Regions from separate parts of the Homo sapiens genome. Here all the other regions are linked to region 1. The links are contacts of gene promoters, found by promoter capture Hi-C in blood cells and fetal thymus (Javierre and others, 2016). All regions are on one chromosome and are shown on one strand. Each heading gives the region's core, a stretch centred on a gene start or on the middle of the fragment in contact. The rest is flanking DNA. Distances are from core to core; before and after follow the strand shown.

Region 1 (2,692 bases), core at 56-2,555:
CACTCAAGAGTCTTCATGTCTGCTGGGTTGCTCTGCTTCAGGCTGTGAGTCCTCCGGCTGGCTGAGATGCCTCTGCAATACGTGAATTCAGTCTGGTACCCAGATGCTAATAGGCAGCTACTTGACCTCATGGCAGAGGTCAGATGTTCCTGAGAACAGAAACACGGTGCTTCTAAAGGCAAGACTGGTGGTACACTGCTATCTCTCCACATTCCATTCTTAAGCAAGCCACATGGCCAAGTCCAAGGTCAATAAATGACTCTCACAGAGTTATTGGTAGATGGAGTGAATATATGATAATCTATCAATTCCTAAATTATGATTTCTCAATACAGAAGTCATTAAAAAGGCATTTTCCAAGGAGGAGTGCCAAAAGCGATGTAATAACGTTATCATTGAAATAAGTGTATAGCTACATAATGGGACCATCTTGGATGCACAAGTTTTTGTTTGCTTTTAAAAGTTATTTTAATGCCTTTTATATAAGTCAGACTTCATGCTTGCCTCAGTGAAAACATGCAATTCCTATTTATGATTGGATTGTCCTGAAACCTATACACAGAGGCTCCTAAAAGCTATCAAGTCAACATTTCCTTATTTCTTCACTTTCATTTTAAAAAAAATCTTTTAAAAAGGAAAGAAAAATACCAGAATCTCCATTCTGATGTCGCCATGCTGAGGCTTGGCAAGCCAAAAATATAAGGATGAAAAGGCACCACCAATTCGTGAGAGTCGGCTAGGCTTCTTCGTGCTATTCCGGACAGTCAGGAGCCCTGGGTTCCAGCCAGGTGATCGGGTCGCTTATCGGCTCCTATCACCTCAGCTGCTTGCTCCACTTCTCCGGGTTTCCAGTTCTCCATCGTAAATGTGCTCCCTGGAGCAGCCTCCCCTGACAGTCAGACATCCACCAATCCATTAGATGCTGGAGGTTTTCTGGAGACACTGTTTCCCTAATGAGGACTGCTTTGTACAGTCACTGATAGCAGCTCTAGAAAGTGTAACAGCTTTTTTATCTCAAAAGCTGTTCCTCGCGCTCCGGCTCTCGGGGAGCCGCCTTCCAGACCTGTCTACCCGGGAGCCCCCTCCCCGCGCACTTCCCAGACTTCTCCTGAGACCCGAGAGCGCTGGTTTTCCCCCACTCGCGATAGTCCTGGGATGACAGTGCGGGCCCCCTCACTCGCAGCTCCCACCACCTGGCGGCCAGGGGTTCGCGGCCCGGGCGGGCGGCGCCAGTGCCCTCTGGAGCTGGGCGGGGAGGGCGGGGCGGGCGGAGCGGGCATGGTGGGGTGTCGGGGGCCGCAGGCGTAGCGCTCTCGCCCTGGCCATGGAGCGGCCGGCGCCCGGCGAGGTGGTCATGAGCCAAGCCATCCAGCCGGCGCACGCCACTGCGCGCGGCGAGCTGAGCGCGGGGCAGCTGCTCAAGTGGATCGACACCACCGCCTGCCTGGCGGGTAGGCGGGCGCCGGGGCTGCGGGGAGGCGCGGGACCGGGGCTGCGGGAGCGGCGGCGGCTGGGGGCTGGGGGGGGTAGGAAGGCGAGGAAGGTACTTGCGGAGAGCTGAACCCTGCGCAGCCAGGGATAGGGGTGTTGCAACAGTGCGCCCGCGCTGGGCATGGCCGAGACCGGTGGTTCCCAAATGTGTGGCTCTCGGGACTCCTTCATTCCATTAAACAAGTGAGGAGCCCAGAGAGCTTCTGCGGGGTTTTTTGTTTGTTTGTTTGTTGTTGTTGTTGTTGAGCTCTCTCCCGGGCTGGAGAGCGGTGGCGCCATCAGAGGTCGCTGCAGCCTCGACCTCCTGAGCTAAAGCGATCCTCCCACCTCAGCCTCCAGAGTAACTAGGACCACAGACGCACGCCACCAGGCCCAGCTGACTTTGGGAGTTTTGTTTTGTTTTGCTTTTGTAGAGATGGGGTCTCACTATGTTGCCCAGGCTGGTCTCAAACGCCTGGACTCAAGTGATCCTGAAGTGTTGGGAGGCCCCAGCCTCCCAAAGTGTTGGGATTACAGGCATGAGCCACCGCACCCAGGCAGCTTTTGTTTATGTAGGCTATTTATATCACATTTACCGTAATGGAAATTTAAAATTTTTAATTATTTTTAAAAAAGAAATGGACTACATTGTTAGCATAACATTTTTAATTAAGAAATAACTATTTTCCACAAGAACAAAAGTGTAGCGAGAGGAGTGGTGATAAAGGTTACATCCTGGCGAGTCTCTCTAAGGTCTGGCTAGTGGAGGATTGCTGACTACTCATACCTGCTTCTGCATTCACCCTGCTGCTACCACACCCTTATGTAGTCTCTGGAAAACTCCACTGTGTTCTTGTGACAGAATGACAGTAAAAATGGCAAAAACATTTATTAAGGACTGAATTATATCCCCCACACCACCCACCGAAATTTATACACTGAAGTCCTAACCCCTGGTGTGACTCTATTTGGAGTGAAGAATTAAGGCTAATGAGGTCATAAGAGTGGAATCCTGGTCCCATACAATTAATGTCCTTATAAGAAGAGACACTGGAGAGCTTCTCTCTGCCATGTGAGGCCACAGCAGGAAGACAGCCATCCACAGGCCAGGAAGAGAGCCCTCACTAGGACCTACAATGGGCAAGCACCTCGATTTGGAACTTCCCTGCCTCCACAATTGTGAGAAATCAATGATTCGTTTAAGCCTTTTTTTTTTTTAACA
Region 2 (2,692 bases), core at 118-2,617, 920 kb before region 1:
AACACACACGGGTCACTCACAGGTAGCAATTATTGTTAATCCACGCCTGGCACACTCCTGAGTGTTTCCACATATCTTAGGCCACGTATTCTTTACATTAATAAAGATAGGTGAGAAATTGAGAGAGGTTAAGTAACTTGCCCTGGTGGCTGAGCAGTAATTTGAAACCAGGTCTGTCTGACTCCAAAATGTGAGCTCCTTCCCTACCCCAAACTGCCTTTCATCCACACGACACTTCTCTAAGCTTGGGAAGGATGAAAGGGAAGAATATGCATATATGCCAATGCCCACATATATTTGGAAAAGGTTGGAATGTGCCCATAAGAGGTACATGCAAAGCCCTGCCTACTATTTCAGGGAGTGGTAGGAACAAGCTAAGCTTCATTCACAGGTAAACAGGATAGAGGAACTTGACAGAATGTCTCTCAGCCTAAGATTCTGGTGGTGAAAAGGAATCTCTTACACCCCATTCCTTACTCCAAATACTTTCAAGATCTTTGGGATATTTTTGACTCCCCGCTGAGTCCCTTCCTACTAACTGCCAAAGCTGTCACTCACACTGCCGATGTACTTCTTATCTTCCCTGATAAGATCACTGCGCCACTCCCTGAAGGAAATAAAATAATTGTCCGCCAATGCCTCTCCCCAGAAGGGCCTCTCAGTCCAGGAAGTGTCAGTCCCTGGCTTCACCCACAGCTTCACTAGGGCTTAGATGGCTGGCATTCCTCACTGATAATTATTCGTGCTGGATAAAGCTGAATGTAAAAGCAAGCCCTGGGTAGGAGGTGGGGGACACAGGGAGATAAAATTCTCTATCCTATTCTACTTCATACCTTAAAAGACAAAGGAAAAAAACCACCAATATTCTTTTAAAGGCATCTACTTCTCTTTTCCTTAAGCATCTAGGTTTGTTTCAGGTGTTTTTAAACAAACACTGAGCTCTTTTGGTACCAAAAACGCAGGTGCATTGAGCATAGGTTTTAGTTTATTACCTGGAAATCAATAAAAGTGACCTCCCACAGGCTCGACCCATCATCCGTGTCGCTGGGCAGCAAGAGGGCCTGGTCCTGCTGCAGGCTGCCCACGCGTTGGCAGCGGTAGGAGTAACCAGAGGGAGCATATACGCCAGTTGGGTTAAAGACTGCTTGGATTGAATTGTTGGAAATGATCTCGACTCGGCGCAAACTAAACCAACTCTGGATGGACAACTTGTTGTAATTGGTAAGGATGAATCTGAAAATGGTTATAAAAACAGCATTACTCCTAAAGAACTTTTCCCACGTTTACTGACGCAAGGCATCGTCTATGAACAGTACAATGGCGCCCTCTTTTGTCAGGCGGCAGAACGGGCTTGGGGAAAGGCTTCACTTTTGCTGCAGAGCCTTCCCTGGATGGATGGAAAAAGAGCAAATGACAGGGCAGCACCCAAAGTGGACAGTGCAAATTCCTACGAAAGAAAAAACACACAAAGTTTGGGTTTGTTTTGTTTTGTTTTTCCTTTTTTAGAATCAACACTTGATTATGTGTTTATTATTCAAAAAATTTGAGAAAAACTTAAATGGACATCAATGAAGAATTTGCTAAATTGTGGTTTAAAATAATAGTAATAGCTCTCTTAATAACTTCTGTGTTATGTATGTGTATTGTGTTTAATCTTCACTTCAACACCATGTAATAGATAATGTCCTTATTCTAACTTCACAGCTGAGGAATCTAAGACACAAAGGGCTTGAATAAGCTCACTTGGAGAGTAAGTGTCAGAGCTGGGCTTCAAATCCAATCTTAACTCTTTTGGAATGGACTGTTTTCCAGCCATGAAAAAAGTCATAATTTACTTGTCATTATCATTTTATTTCCATTTAAAAAAAAAAGTGACTGCATTAAAAAAAAATGTCTGGAAGGATAGAGATTAAAACATTAGTAGTGATTACAAATGGTGTTTAGATTATTGATGATTTTCATTTTCTTCTTTCTGTAGCTCAATATTTTCTGATTTTTCTGTTTTCATTAGTTTTTCTTGTCTCTATTTGGCTTCTTTGCAAGCAGTCTCTAAGACACAGGTGTGAATATAAGAAATATTCAGGGGAGTTTAGTCATTCAAAATACGTAAAATGGAGAGAAAAGAAATGACAGAGGAAGGGAAGGCAGCTAAAAGAGGTACATTATTAAGCCAGTTTCCAATGTGGACAAGCAGGGCTTCATGGCCGTGATGGAACCTGGGAGCCAGAGCACAGCACATGCTGCTGAGTTATCTCACCTGACGGGGAGGGAGCTGAGGTGTGTGTATGTGTCCTCCAGTCATTGGTTGAAGGCTGCTGGGCCAGGGACTGGGGGCAGTGGGCCAGAGAAAGCTTTTAGGCAAAGAGAGGCGGGGAGTTGAAAGTTCAGCAGGTAGGCTACAGTGCTCTCAAATGGAAAGGACCATGTAGATATTCACGGGGTACTGACAGTTTCTGCTACATACCTTTATCATCAGAATAAATAATAATAACAATAATAATAATAAAGCTATTTTTCATTTTGGAAAAAAGTGGAATTACAGATCAAAAATAGTCTCCATTTCTAGATCAAACAGACATGTGTGTTTGGTCACCTTGTGGGATTCTATTTACTTGTAAAGTTGCTCTGAAAGATGATGACATATATTTTCTAAATTATGATCAGTGAAACTCTAGTCTCCCATGATATGTAG
Region 3 (2,692 bases), core at 115-2,614, 900 kb before region 1:
AACTGGGCATCTTATATTTTTAGTTTGCTAAACCAGCCAGTCCTAGTCTTAGGGAAGCTCAGCTACTCAAAGTGTAAAGTGCATACAAATCACATGAGATTCCGTTAAAATGCAAATTTTGACCCAGTAGGTCTGGAGTGGGGTGTAGGATACCACATTCCTAACCAGCTCCCAGATGATGATGATGGTGATGCTGCTTGCCTGAGAACCGCCCTTTGAGTAGCAAGGATCTAGAACAGCATTGTTCAATAGAAATAGAATGAGAGCTACATATGGAATTTAAAATTTTCTAGTCACATTAAAAAGAAGTAAAAATAAACAGGTGAAACTAATTTTAACAGTATTTTTATTTAACCTGTCTAAAATACTATCATTTCAAACATACTCAATTTTAAGGATTATTAGTGAAACATTTTATGTTCTTTTTCTGCCCTAAATCTGAACTCTAGCGTATAATTTTAAAAATTTATTTATTTCTATATTTTGTAGAGATGGGGGTCTTGTTATGTTACCTAGGCCGGTCTCAAACTCCTGGGCTCCAGCAGCCCTCCTGCCTCAGCCTCCAAAAGTGCTGGAATTACAGGCATGAGCCACCATGCTACTTATATCTCAATTCAAACAAGCCAAATTTGAAGCGTTCAGTGGACACTTGTGGCTAGTGCCCCCTGTATTGGACAGGCAAGATACAGAACATCTCCTGCAGCTGCCAGAGCAGTACTTGGTATTCTCTTATGGGAGCAGTGGCAGTGCCTACTCCTCAAGGCCCTGGTCAGGAGAAAGTGAGAGCCCAAGCCAATGATGATCCTGCATTGTGACAATAATGGTTCTGTGAACCCTGAGAAAGGACAGTGTTAGTCCCTTACTAGTTATTACATAATAATCTTTCGGCTGGGCACAGTGGCTCACGCCTGTAATCCCAGCATTTAGGAGGCCGAGGCGGGCAGATCACGAGGACAGGAGCTCGAGACCAGTCTGGCCAACATGGTGAAACCCCGTCTCTACTAAAAATACAAAAAAGTAGCCAGGCATGGTGGCAGGTGCCTGTAATCCCAGCTACTTGGGAGGCTGGGGCAGGAGAATCGCTTGAACCCAGGAGGCGGAGGTTGCAGTGAGCCAAGACCATGCCACTGCACTCCAGCCTGGACAACAGAGCAAGACTCCATCTCAAAAAAAAAAAAAAAAAAAAAAAAAGAATCTTTCATGGAAATATGCTTGGGTTACATTTTCAGACACACACACAATATTTTCAATTTAAATAAAGTATCATTTTAATAGATTTTATGTCCTGATCCTAAAATTGTAACATAGTATTCTTTCTGTTGTTGAAACATTCTCCCACTTGGTTAAGAATATTCAAGGCATAATAATTAGTAGCCAGTAGGTTTCACACATGTAGGTTTCACACAGTGACAAGAAATGCTCACTGGACATCTTAGAGGCTGCAAAGCTCTAGGGTGTCACCTGCCTGGCATTGTACCTTCCTGCTCGGACTGCTGAGGAGCCTCTGTGAAGAACTGTGAAGGGTCTGAGATTTTATTCACTTAGAAGCTAACTAGTTACCCTGACAGTTTTATGGAGGCTGACAGAAGACACAGACTCCTGGGTCAGAGAAAAGGACTTTATTACTCACCGCACAGCAAGTGACACAAGCATCAGTATATTTGGTCAGCTCCCCTTCCCCTCGGAATAATGTAGGTAGGCCCAGATGGATACTTGCACACACAGTGGGCTTCATCTCAGGAGAGAAACCCTGAGCTTACGGAGCCCCAATTTTTTTATAGTGAGTAGTAAACCTATCTGCCCTTTGCTCTGAGGGGAAATACTACCTCTACTTTCCAATGCTATAAGCAAGCCTGTCCTTTGCTACAAAGGGGACATGATTTCTACCGTTCAAGGCTTCTCCCTATACAAACATCCTAGAAAAGGTATTCAGAACAAAGAGCAGTTAGGGACTAGCTCACAATACAGGCAGAAAATGCAGAGGCACATGGAAAATTTCCCCTCTACTGTCTCCACAGGAGAACAGGAAGTTGTACAGCCATGCTGCCTTCTTTACAACTGGACACAACTTGGGTTTGCTTCATTTTTTTATTTACTATATATAACTAAATGATATGTTACCTGAATATTTGAATATCAAAAATCTATCTTCCCATAATCACATATGACCATATAGAATTGTGTTCCCACAGGAACAAAAATGGATCTAACTTAAGAATTCTAATATTTACCTTAAGAAGACTAACAGGTGCACAGTCTCTATTCATTCAACGCTCTCAGACCAAAACTTGCATAAATGTTTCAATCAATTATAATGGTCTTTGCATAGTGATTCAAAATCCAAATCCACGTAACTCCTACAAAGCCCAGCATGGCGTGGCCCCTGCTGGTCTCTCTTGCCTCATTTAACACCAGCTCCTCATCCTGAACATGTTCCAGGCACACTGGCTCGCACTCAGCTTCTCAGCACCCTCAACATGCCAAGCTCCATTGCACCCAAGTGACCTTGCACATACTATTCTCTCTGTGAAGTCACCTCACACCTCTCTAGCTCTCCGTGTATTCTATTCACTTTCATCATAACACATATCACAATTTGCACTGAGAGATTTATTTTCTCATGTACTTATTGATGCTGTTTCTTCATCACAAGGCACGCTCCATGAGGGTAGATACTATGTCTATTTGACTG
Region 4 (2,692 bases), core at 59-2,558, 860 kb before region 1:
TTTCAGTTTATTTTTAATAATTTACAAAATGAGACCTGGTGGTCACTAAAATCACTTTCAGCTCCAATGGTCTAGAATGCAAGATACTTGCAACAGAACCACTAGATGTCACTACTAACAATACAAAAGTTAAAGCAAGGGCTTGAGATCACAGGATTACTGTAAAGAACTACCAGATTTAGGAATAAAAATGTGAAAATGCTTCCATAGAGAAGCCCTGTAAAAATCCAGAGGAGTAGCTTCAAACACCTTTGTGCACATGAAGTGCCGCAGAAACAATAATTGTTAAGTACTTCCTATACCCTTCTATTAATAGAATAGCCTTCAGCAACTTACTGGTCAGCAGCATAAGGAGAATCAAGTCTTAGAATAGGAAGGAAGCTTATTTGTCCATCAGTTTTCAGATTTCTATTTTCTGGCACTAGAAATACAGTCTATGTTACAACCCAGTGCACACGTGCATGTGTGCGTGTGTGGACACACACACACACAGATTTCATATATATATAAAATATATGTGTGTGTATATATATAAAATATGTGTGTGTATATATATATATATAAATATATATATAAAACATATAGTTGAAACCAAAGTTTCACAAAACAATAATGCCCTTACTATGTGTAGTGCACTTTGATATTTTCTTTTTTATGTATTCTATTTCATTAAAAAAAAAAAAAAACTGGCTGGGCATAGCGGCTCACACCTGTGTAATCCCAGTACTTTGGGAGGCTGAGATAGGAGGATCTCTTGAGCCTAGGGGTTCAAGTACAGTCTGGGCAACATAGTGAGACCTCATCTCTACAAAAAATAAGCAAAATTAACCAGGCGTGGTGGCATGCGCCTGTAGTCCTAGCTACTCAGGAGACTGCAATGAGAGGATCCCTTGAGCCCAGGAGGTCAGGCTGGAGTGAGTCAAGATCAAGCCATTGCACTCCAGCCTAGGCAACAGAGTAAGACCTTATTTCAAAAAAAAAAAAAAAAAAAGCTTGTTACAAAACAATAAATTGATTTTACTCAATCAAATACACTTTCTTATGTTAATATATCAGAAAACAGAGGCCCAGAGAGGTGCAGTGACTTGCCCCAGGTAACTCAGTAGTCAGAATTCAAGGCTTTTCAGGACACTGGCAGGTTTTGTTTTGGAAGACCCTAGGTAAAAACTGAAGTGTCTTTGGCACAATCTCAGCCCCTGCTGTGCTCCTCAACCTTCTAAATCCTGTGGCTAAGACACTGCAGTAAAAACAAAACAAAACGAAACCTGACAAAGTGTATGGATGATTAGTTATATGCAGCAGCCATTTAAAAATACAGGTTCTTTCTTAAACGCAAATGTGATCACTTTAACTTTTCTATTTGAATCCCAGCAGTGGCTGTGGTTTTCGGGCCAAATACAAATTCTCAGTGTGACAGTAAAGACTCTTCCCGAGCTGGCCCCAGTCCTGCTCTAGCCAGCTTGATTCTTCACCACTTCCCTACAAGCACCTTCAAGATTCTTCCTTCACTCTTGACCTGGCTAAGTCATAAGGTTTTCGAGACTCCACTCACATTCCTCTTCTGCAAAGCCTTCCTTGGCATGTGCTTGCCCACAGCATGCAGCCTACTGTTCCTGAAGCTTCCTCTTGTGTGTCCTCTCCACTGGACTATGGCATTCTTATGTCTCCCCATTTGCTATCTGTGGCACCTGGCCTAGGATTCAGTATGTAAGAGGAAATCTGCTTAAGTGAATATTTTCATATTCTCATTCTTAAATTTTAACCCTAAAAAAACCTCACTGGAATATCTCTGGATTATGTAAGAGCTGATTTTGACATTGCAGAGCTCTATTTCCTAATATTTTGGGAGTATGAATAAAAACCACTATACCTATCATAGGAGAAATACATGCAAAAACCCAGTTCTGGCCTTTTTTCTCTTGATTTTAATAAGCCTTTGTTGGGGGGAAGGGGAATTTTGTTTTTTTAACCTCTAGCTCGTAGGCTAGTACCTGCTGAGCAACACAGCCTCTGCTCCCCTCACTGCTCCCTCCACTGGTCCCTCAAAGAGTTTTCCCACCTCTCAAATTCCCAACCCAAGAGCCTTTCTACTTAGGTGGCACACACAGACATTCTTCTGTGTATGCTGCAACACAGCAAATCAAGGACAGTGGCCAACACCTGAAATGACTTAATTAATACTTATCAAGTTGGGGAGAAATTAGAGCGGAAGAGAGGCAGCTAAAAGCTCATAGTGACTAAGGATGGTGAGTAATGAAGGGAGCACTGATTGGGGTCTGTGGTGGTCAGAGGTGGCTTTGTGACAGTGAATCACCAACACCAGGGTGGGAATTGGGTAGACCTGTGGGGAAGGAAGCACTTCCAGGTGGGCACCAGCATAAGCAACAGTCAGCTAAGGGTGTGAAGGAAAAGACTCCCCAGATCAGAGAGCGCTTGGCACTGGGGAGGGCTCAGACATACAATGAGGTGGAGAGGAGTAGGGATGCTAGTGTCGCTGAAGGAGCAGGTCATTATCCACTGTCACCCCTCACTCCATGTCTCACTGCCTTGGTTAAAGCACATTCAGTTTTATGTATCATTTTGATCTTCTCTATGCCCTTGTCAGGTAAGCAGCATAGATACTGTGGGCTTTATTTTTCAGAAATAGTTTAAGAAGGAAATAAGAAAATTGGCCCAAGTCACACAGCTAGCA
Region 5 (2,692 bases), core at 109-2,608, 840 kb before region 1:
TTTATCGCATAGACAAAGACAGCCTAATGTGCCAAAGTAAGTTATTACTGGCATATGCTGCCTGTTCCATAAAGGGAAATATTTGTGTGGAGGGCACCCATAGCCCCTACGTCACTGTAGGGACACCATTCTCTCCTTGGCACAAAACTGGAGACAGAACCTACTTTACATTGCAGAAGTCCCAACATAAGATAAAAACTTCAGTATCTGTTTTCTCAAATATTTCTTCCAATGTGTATCTAAGAACGAAGGAGAGGATTTGAGGAGATGGTTAGGATAACCCTCTACATGTAATTTACTTTAAAAAATTATGTCAAATATGCAATATATTCTAAACTCTTATCTATTGGCTTCCACATTAAAAAATAGTATCTTATTTTACCATTGTGGAAAATTGATGCACCAAGATGCATATTTTAATTCTGTGAGTTTGCCTACTCCTTGCCACACCACTGTATCCCCCTAAGGTATGTTACCCAGACTAAGAAGCGGACTCAAATACTACCAAAATATATGCCTTCCTACTTTACTCCCACCTTTGTTACTCCATATGTTTTTTTACTTATGCATTCAGTAAACATCACTGAATACTTATTGTGGGTAAGATTCCATGCTAAACACTCATACATATATCCATCCATCTGCCCATCCATTTATTTATGGAGCACATTCTATATGCCAGGCACTTTTCTAGGCACTACAAATATTTGCACACTAAATACAGACGCAAAATTTGTTCTCATAGAATTTACATTCTAGTTTTAGGTACTAGAAATACATAAAACAGCAGCTAATTATCTTAATTCATGGGGTTTACAGTCCAGCTGCACCTGCAATACTACAAGTCTTGAATTGCACCTCTAGAAGAAAGACTCCTAAAGGTGAAATACTCATGCCCTGTCCCCTGAATGAAAAAGCAGATCCCTAGTGAGAATAGCAGAGATGGCTGATGGCTGGGCAGTGGTTAGGGGTCGGGTGGGTGGGGCGTGGTAATAGGACTGCGACCAGGAAAAGCTGCGAAGAAAGATTCCTTCTGTGGCAGCAATTAATTTCACCATTCGGAGGGAAGGCATGGGGAGTCCTCACACTTCCAGAGAAGACCATGTAGGGATCACAGTGGCACTAGCAAAAAATGAGACACTCCCTGCTATAAGGTGGAGGGTGTTCCAAGGACAATCTGAGGTGCCTGAGGGCCACAGAGGAGCTCACCAGTAAAATAAAGGAAAACTTCGATGCAGAGGTGGCCCAGGCCTGAGGCCCTATCGATGGAAAGACCTTGTTCCCTGGGATGATACTCCTTAAGATCCTGCTTGCCTGAAACTTAATCACTATTTTCTTAAGGCAGATCTAATGCTTGCTGTATGGCTTCAATCGTATGCTTTCTGTAACACTGTGTTGTGTGGCTACGGTTGGAAACATAAGTCTGTATAGCAGGATGTATATTTTCATGAGCTATGAGAGATCTTGAGTCAAATGAAATTTGGTATCTCCTCTCTCCTCCCCATACTCCATTAGGGCATCTACCATTCAAGGATTACAGAAATAACTGTTATATATGATAGGCTGGTTGTGATCCTGGCTACTCAAAGGTACACATCCAGGAATATGGGAATTCAAAGAAAGGAGAGGTCACTTCTGACTCGGGGAGAGAGACGGCAGCAAAGACTTTTTTTTTTTTTTTGAGAAGGAATCTCGCTCTGTCATCCAGGCCGGAGTGCAATGGCATGATCTCGGCTCACTGCAACCTCTGCCTCCTGGTTCAAGCAATTCTCCTGCCTCAGCCTCCGGAGTAGTTGGGACTAGAGGTGCACGCCACCATGTCCAGCTAATTTTTGTATTTTTAGTAGAGGCGGGGTTTCATCATGTTGGTCAGGCTGGTCTCGAACTCCTGACCTCAGGTGATCCGCCTGCCTTGGCCTCCCAAAGTGCTGAGATTACAGGTGTGAGCCACCACACCCGGCCAAGACTTCTTAAAAATATGGTATTTAATCTTGCCCAGACCTTAAAGGACGGGCAGAACTCAGGGAGGAGAAAAGCAAAGTGTGGCCGTAGAATATAAGCCAGAAACAGCCTACTCCAAGTTTAATGGGAAAGGAGTTAAGAGAGATGTACCAACTTCCATCTTTTAGGTAAGACTGAGAAGTTTGGTAAGTTTGGAGAAGAAAAATTGCCTATTTTTGTTTGTTTGGTTTTGTTGATGTTGGTGTTAAATGATTAAGGCAATCCCTTTATGATCCAATAATTTTCTGAAAGTAGTCAAGACAAAGAGGCAAGGTTTGAACACCAAGCAATCGTACTTTATAGTTTTAAAAAAGGGGAAAAAAAGGGGGGAAAGAAGAAATACCAGTTCAGATTTCCATCTCTCATAGGTATATGAGAATATACATAGAAAAAAATGTGAGAAAATGTTAAGAAAAAAAATATGTGGGAAAGAAACCAAAGTCTCACCTAAGTACCCAGAAAGATCAGCAAGTTTCTCCTCATTTCTAGGATGAACAGAGGAAGACAAGTGAGCCACACTTTACTCTAGCTGCCCCTGTTGACATTTTTGGCCTGTTAATTAGGAAGAAATGTCTAATGGTGTTTAGGAAGGTGGTTTAAACAACAACAACAAACAAACAAAACCAAAGAAAGACAGTTCATCAAATTCATATACTACACAGACACCACCAGGCTTTCTAGAATTTTTATT
Region 6 (2,692 bases), core at 124-2,623, 820 kb before region 1:
AAATAATTCCTGTACGTGTGATGTGTGTGTGTGTGTGTGTGTGTGTGTGTGTGTGTAAAGAGAGAACAGTGTTCTGTTATAACCTTCCTTATGCAGCTGTTTTTTTGTTTGGTTTTGTTTTGTTTTAATTTAGAGACAAGGTCTGGATCTGTTGCCCAGGCTAGAGTGCAATGGTACAATCTCAGCTCACCACAGCCTTGACCTCCTGGGGTCAAGCGAGCCTCCTACCTCAGCCTCCCGAGTAGCTAGAACCACAGGTGCACACTACCACACCCAGTTAATTTTTTTTTTTTTTTTTGGTAGAGAGGGGGTCTTGTTATATTGCCCAGGCTGGCCTCAAATTCCTGGGCTCAAGCAGTCTTCCTGCCTCAGCCTCCCAAAGTGCTGGGTACAGGTGTGAGCCACCACACATGGCCAGCTGTTTTGAGAATTAAATGAGACAATGCATGTAAAGCATGTTGCCTGTGTAAACTGCTGCCAATCAATATTATGCCCTATATGTGTATGTATATGGGTGTGTGTGTGTATATATATGCATATATATTCTACAATTTGTCACAAAAGATTCATGTGGCAAAAAATAGCTTCTGACACATACACATATATATGACAGGATATATAAGGGATAAGATTGCATTTATACCTTATAAGAATTATAAGGTAATATAATATATAAGCACATAGTAAATGTAATATTACTATGTAATAAAAGTAGTAAATGAACTAATGCACATAAATAGCACAGTGTTTAGTAAATAACAAATGCTTAACAATGTTCGTTGTGGTCATCATCACCATCACCACCATTATTTCTCCCATTTTATATAGGAGGACACTGAATTTCCAAGGGAGTTAGGTAACTTACCCAAGGCCAAACAGCTAGTAAGAGGCTGGGCTGAGACTGATGTCTGTTTGATTGCAAAACTCATGATCTTCCCAATTTTACTATAGGCCTAAGCATTCTTACAGAGTGGTTAAGTATTCTGCTTCTATAAAACAGGTTTCAAGTAAAAAGAGAAGATAGTTGTTGCTACCATCGTCATTTTTTTTTTTTGAGACTGAGTCTCACTCTGTCACCCAGGCTGGAGTGCAGTAGCGCAATCTCGGCTCACTGCAACCTCCACCTCCCGGGTTCAAGTGATTCTCCTGCCTCAGCCTCCTAAGTAGCTGGGACTACAGGCACGCACCACTACACCCAGCTGATTTTTGTATTTTTAGTAGAGATGGGGTTTCACCATATTGTCCAGGCTGGTCTTGAACTCCTGACCTCATGATCCACCCACCTCGGCCTCCCAAAGTGCTGGGATTACAGGCATGAGCCACTGCGCCTGGCCTGTTGCTACCATCTTCATTCTTATAGCTGTGGACTCAAATAAATCTAATGAAACTCCTAATAGCATGAGTTTTATTGGTTTGGCATATTACAATAATCTATTGCTAGTGTAAGACATTTCCTGGTCATAAGGCAAGTATCTAGAAGTGGCTTTTGCTGAAGTGTTGCCAGTCTGTCATTGATCTCCCATTCTATTCATACCTAATTAGCATGCTTGAAGTCTCACAAGTTGCTCAGGTGGCTTACTTGATTCTGGTATTTTAAAACAATACTATTATTGTGGATGTGATGCATAATTTTACCATATCAGAACATCAAAATCCATTCATTAAAGAATCTATCAAAGTCTGGATGTAAGTTAATAATATATGTCTCTTCTCTGGTCTGGGTATGAAAAAGGAAAGTTACTTGAAAATAAGAGGGTAGAAGATTTATTTTTAGACCAGGATATACTTAGCTAATAGTCTTAAGCCAGGGTGGCTCCAGGCCAGAGCGAAATTCACTAAGTTGAATCTCTTTTTGTTGCCCTTCCTTTTTACTCTGAAGCAGACAAGGTAATAAGCAGTGGGGACATATCTAGGATCTACAGAATATTTCTGCAGTTTCTATTTTCTAAATCATCAAGCTGTTCTTTAGTTTTATAGAGCAGTTTTTCAATTGTTGAGGATCTTTCTGCAGAAAGGCAATTTGATTTCTATCCTTGGCTCTTCGATTATACATTCTATCATCACTAAACATTGATTAAGCCTGCTGCAATACACTCCCTTGTATTTGGGTCTTTGAATTCTCAGAAGGTCATTATTTATTACAATGTAACAAATTGGATTTTTTTTTTTTTTTGAGATGGAGTTTCGCTCTTGTTGCCCAGGCTGGAGTGCAGTGGGGCGATCTCAGCTCACTGCAACCTTCACCTCCCAGGTTCAAGCTATTCTGCCTCAGCCTCCCGAGTAGCTGGGATTATAGGCGCCTGCCACCATGCCCAGCTAATTTTTTGTATTTTTAGTAGAGAATGGGGTTTCACCATGTTGGCCAGGCTGGTCTCGAACTCCCGACCTCAGGTGATCCACCTGCCTCAACCTCCCAAAGTGCTGGGATTACAGGTGTGAGCCACCGTGTCTGGCCTGGAAATATTTTTAAAATATGGTCAATGCAGGTGCTGTATTTATCAGTGTTAGCCTTTGTTTCAGGACAAAATGAGCTGATGTTTCTTAACAAACATGACATTTAATTCAAGTGTTTTTTAAAGATATATAAAAATTAATTTTTTCTTTCTGAGAATATCACCATTGAAAAAACTCAAGGTCTGGTAGGCAGCTTTCTAAAACGGTTCAATAATTCCCTTGTGTCCCCTTGCGTATG
Region 7 (2,692 bases), core at 50-2,549, 800 kb before region 1:
GGAGAAAATTAGCTATATAATGTATCAGTGTGAAAGCTGAATGTTGTACCTGGAAATGTTTACTGTATATCATGCTCCTTCTAGGAAGCTAATGGTAAATGATCATACTAAACATTAGGTAATACTTCACTGACAAAAATCAGGATGCTCGGTCTTCAGAAGAGTCAATGTGAAAAGTCAAGCAAAACAGCAATTAAATAGTTTCAGGCAAGTCCCCCAATCCCAAGTACTGTTCCCTTTCGGGAATTTCTTCTGTTAAAATAATAACAGTGGCCTGTCCTTAGAATGTGGCAAAATGAGAGCAATAACCTCTTAGACCATAGATTCAGGTTGTAAAATCTCTGTTTTTGGGGGCTGAGTTTACAGTTAAGGCTAAAACTACAGAAAACATGTAGATAGTGCACATCCTTGGCTGCCTTGGTGCCTCACACCTGTAATCCCAGCACTTTGGGAGGCTGGGACAGGCAGATCACTTGAGCCCAGGAGTTCAAGACCAGCCTGACTAGCAAAACCCCATCTCTCTATTAAAAATACAAAAATTAGCCAGGCATGGTGGTGCACACCTGTAATCCCAACTACCTACCATGTTGGGTGGTGGAGGCACAAGAATTAGTTGAACCCAGGAAGTGGAGGCTTCAGTGAGCCACGATCCTGTCACCGTACTCCAGCCTGGGCGACTTAGCATTCTATTTTGTTTATTAAATGCAAATCTGGTTTCTTTTGCTCACCTTCTACCTCACTTGAGCAAAGGTAAATTTTTTATACCACTCCCTCTTTATGTAGTCTAATATTATTTAGTAAGAATGTCTAAAAAGTAAATTTCCACAAAAACCTACAATTAAGCAAGTGAATTAAATGAAAATCTCAAGGAAAATACTCTGCATTACCAGCTAAATCCCCTTAGTCAACCTTCCCCAGGCCCAATCCTCCTATGCTTCTCAATTTCCCTCATATTTCACTCTAAAGTATGTGAGGAGTTCTATTTTTCCATGAACAGGGCACACAATACCAGGCATTAGCCAGGAATTGAGGAAAACATCATAGATCAAGAAATGGACTTCTTACTAAACTCCAGTCCTTTGCAAAAAGAGTTCTCAGGGTACTGAAACTCAGCTGAGGTAAGTCACCTGAACTGCTGAATGTGATACAGTAAAAAGAACTTAGTTTGGTTGAACAAATCATTTTATCTATAGAGATAGATAGATAGATAGATAGATAGATAGATAGATAGATAGATAGATAGATAGAAAGAAAGAAAGAAAGAAAATAATGGGACAGAGAGGTAAGGTATAATCAGAGAAGGATGCAATTAACCATTGGAGAAGGTGGGTGGGAAGAAAACGACTGAGAGGACAATGGGAAGTAATGTAAATAGGATTCATGCCACATCCAAATACCAAAGGATGGACACAGGCACAGGTCATATTCCCAAGAAAGACAGACAGACAGACAGATAGGTAGATAGGCAGGTAGGTAGGTAGGTAGGTAGGTAGGTAGGTAGGTAGGTAGATAGACAGATAGATAGATAGATAGATAAGCTGGTTAGGGTTAGAGAATTTTAGTTCTTGAACAATTTCTTTTTCAGACAACATGCTATTACCTGTATTCTCTCTGTCATCAAAAATCAAGACATGCCATAATGACATGATCTTTTATATAGAAAATCTTAATAAATCCACAAAAAACTATTAGACCTAATAAAAGAGTTCAGCAAGGTTACAGGATACAAAAAAATACACACAAAAAATCAGTTGTATTTCTACACTAGCAGAGAACAATATGAAAATGAAATTAAGAAAACAATTTCATTCACAACAGCATCAAAAAGAACAAAATATGTAGGAATAAATTTAATGAAAAAATTCAAGACTTGTCACCTGAAAATCTATACAACAGTGTTGAAAGAAATTGAGAGGAGCTAAGTAAATGGAAAGACATTCCGTATTGATGAATTGGAAGATAGAATCTTGTTAAGATGGCAATTCTCCTCAAATTGAAGTATAGCTCCAGTGCAATCCATATCAAAATTCCAACTGACATTTTCGCAGAAATTGAGAAACTGATGCTAAGATTCATATGGAAATGCATAGAACCAAAGCTAGCGAAAACAATCTTCAAAAAGAAGAACAAAGTTGGTGGGCTTACGTTTCCCAATTTCAAAAAATGACTGTTATAAAGCCACAGTAAACAAGACAGTGTGACGCTGACAAAGGATAGGCATATGAAACAGTGGAATAGAATTTGGCGTCCAGAAATAAATGCATACATCTATGGTAAATTGATTTTTGACAAGGGTGCCAAGATAATTAAGTGGGAAAAGAATAGTCTTTACAAATAATGGTTCAGAGACTACTGGATATTTATTAGTACATGCAAAAGAATGAATTTGCACCCCTACCTCATTGCTACATACAAAAATAAGTTAAAATAGATGAAAGACCTAAATGTAAAAGCTAAAACCATAAAACTCTTAGAAGACCACATAGGGTTTAATCTTTGTGCCCTTAGGATACGTAACAGTTTTGTAGATATAATACCTAAGGCGAAATAAATCTAATAAAAAAATAGATAAATTGGACTTTACCTACATAAAAAACTTTTGTGAGCCAAAGAACGCTATCAAGAGAGGGAAAAGACAACCAATGGAATGGGAGAAAATTTGCAAATCATATAGTCAATAAGGGTCTAGTAT

The links. Contacts are between HindIII fragments. The CHiCAGO score rates a contact against its expected background, and 5 or more counts as called.
Region 2: a fragment that was not itself captured here is called in contact with the fragment with the promoter of ACOT12 in region 1 in 1 of 17 cell types (naive B cells); the score reaches 5.5 in naive B cells.
Region 3: a contact is called between a fragment that was not itself captured here and the fragment with the promoter of ACOT12 in region 1, in 1 of 17 cell types (total B cells). The highest score is 5.0, in total B cells.
Region 4: a contact is called between a fragment that was not itself captured here and the fragment with the promoter of ACOT12 in region 1, in 5 of 17 cell types (monocytes, erythroblasts, total B cells and 2 more). The highest score is 8.4, in monocytes.
Region 5: a fragment that was not itself captured here is called in contact with the fragment with the promoter of ACOT12 in region 1 in 10 of 17 cell types (monocytes, naive B cells, activated CD4 T cells and 7 more); the score reaches 10.3 in monocytes.
Region 6: a contact is called between a fragment that was not itself captured here and the fragment with the promoter of ACOT12 in region 1, in 15 of 17 cell types (naive CD4 T cells, total CD8 T cells, total B cells and 12 more). The highest score is 10.2, in naive CD4 T cells.
Region 7: a contact is called between a fragment that was not itself captured here and the fragment with the promoter of ACOT12 in region 1, in 2 of 17 cell types (monocytes and non-activated CD4 T cells). The highest score is 6.7, in monocytes.

Annotation. Positions count from the first base shown.
Region 1 is chr5:81,392,747-81,395,438 of GRCh38, reverse strand. ACOT12 (acyl-CoA thioesterase 12) reads left to right here and starts at 1,305. Exons shown (of 15, transcript NM_130767.3): 1 at 1,305-1,451. The coding sequence starts at 1,325. The HindIII fragment of the contact is 6,480 bases long and covers 1-2,692 here.
Region 2 is chr5:82,311,152-82,313,843 of GRCh38, reverse strand. It overlaps the pseudogene ATP6AP1L. Among named protein-coding and RNA genes, the nearest start is that of RPS23, 34 kb to the right of the region's middle. The HindIII fragment of the contact is 1,972 bases long and covers 382-2,353 here.
Region 3 is chr5:82,290,876-82,293,567 of GRCh38, reverse strand. It overlaps the pseudogene ATP6AP1L. Among named protein-coding and RNA genes, the nearest start is that of RPS23, 14 kb to the right of the region's middle. RefSeq lists an enhancer at 1-69. The HindIII fragment of the contact is 7,059 bases long and covers 1-2,692 here.
Region 4 is chr5:82,256,785-82,259,476 of GRCh38, reverse strand. No RefSeq gene overlaps it. Among named protein-coding and RNA genes, the nearest start is that of RPS23, 20 kb to the left of the region's middle. The HindIII fragment of the contact is 627 bases long and covers 995-1,621 here.
Region 5 is chr5:82,236,632-82,239,323 of GRCh38, reverse strand. All of the region lies in intron 5 of ATG10 (autophagy related 10), which reads right to left. Among named protein-coding and RNA genes, the nearest start is that of RPS23, 40 kb to the left of the region's middle. The HindIII fragment of the contact is 3,441 bases long and covers 1-2,692 here.
Region 6 is chr5:82,215,417-82,218,108 of GRCh38, reverse strand. All of the region lies in intron 5 of ATG10 (autophagy related 10), which reads right to left. Among named protein-coding and RNA genes, the nearest start is that of RPS23, 62 kb to the left of the region's middle. The HindIII fragment of the contact is 4,691 bases long and covers 1-2,692 here.
Region 7 is chr5:82,196,277-82,198,968 of GRCh38, reverse strand. All of the region lies in intron 5 of ATG10 (autophagy related 10), which reads right to left. Among named protein-coding and RNA genes, the nearest start is that of RPS23, 81 kb to the left of the region's middle. The HindIII fragment of the contact is 7,253 bases long and covers 1-2,692 here.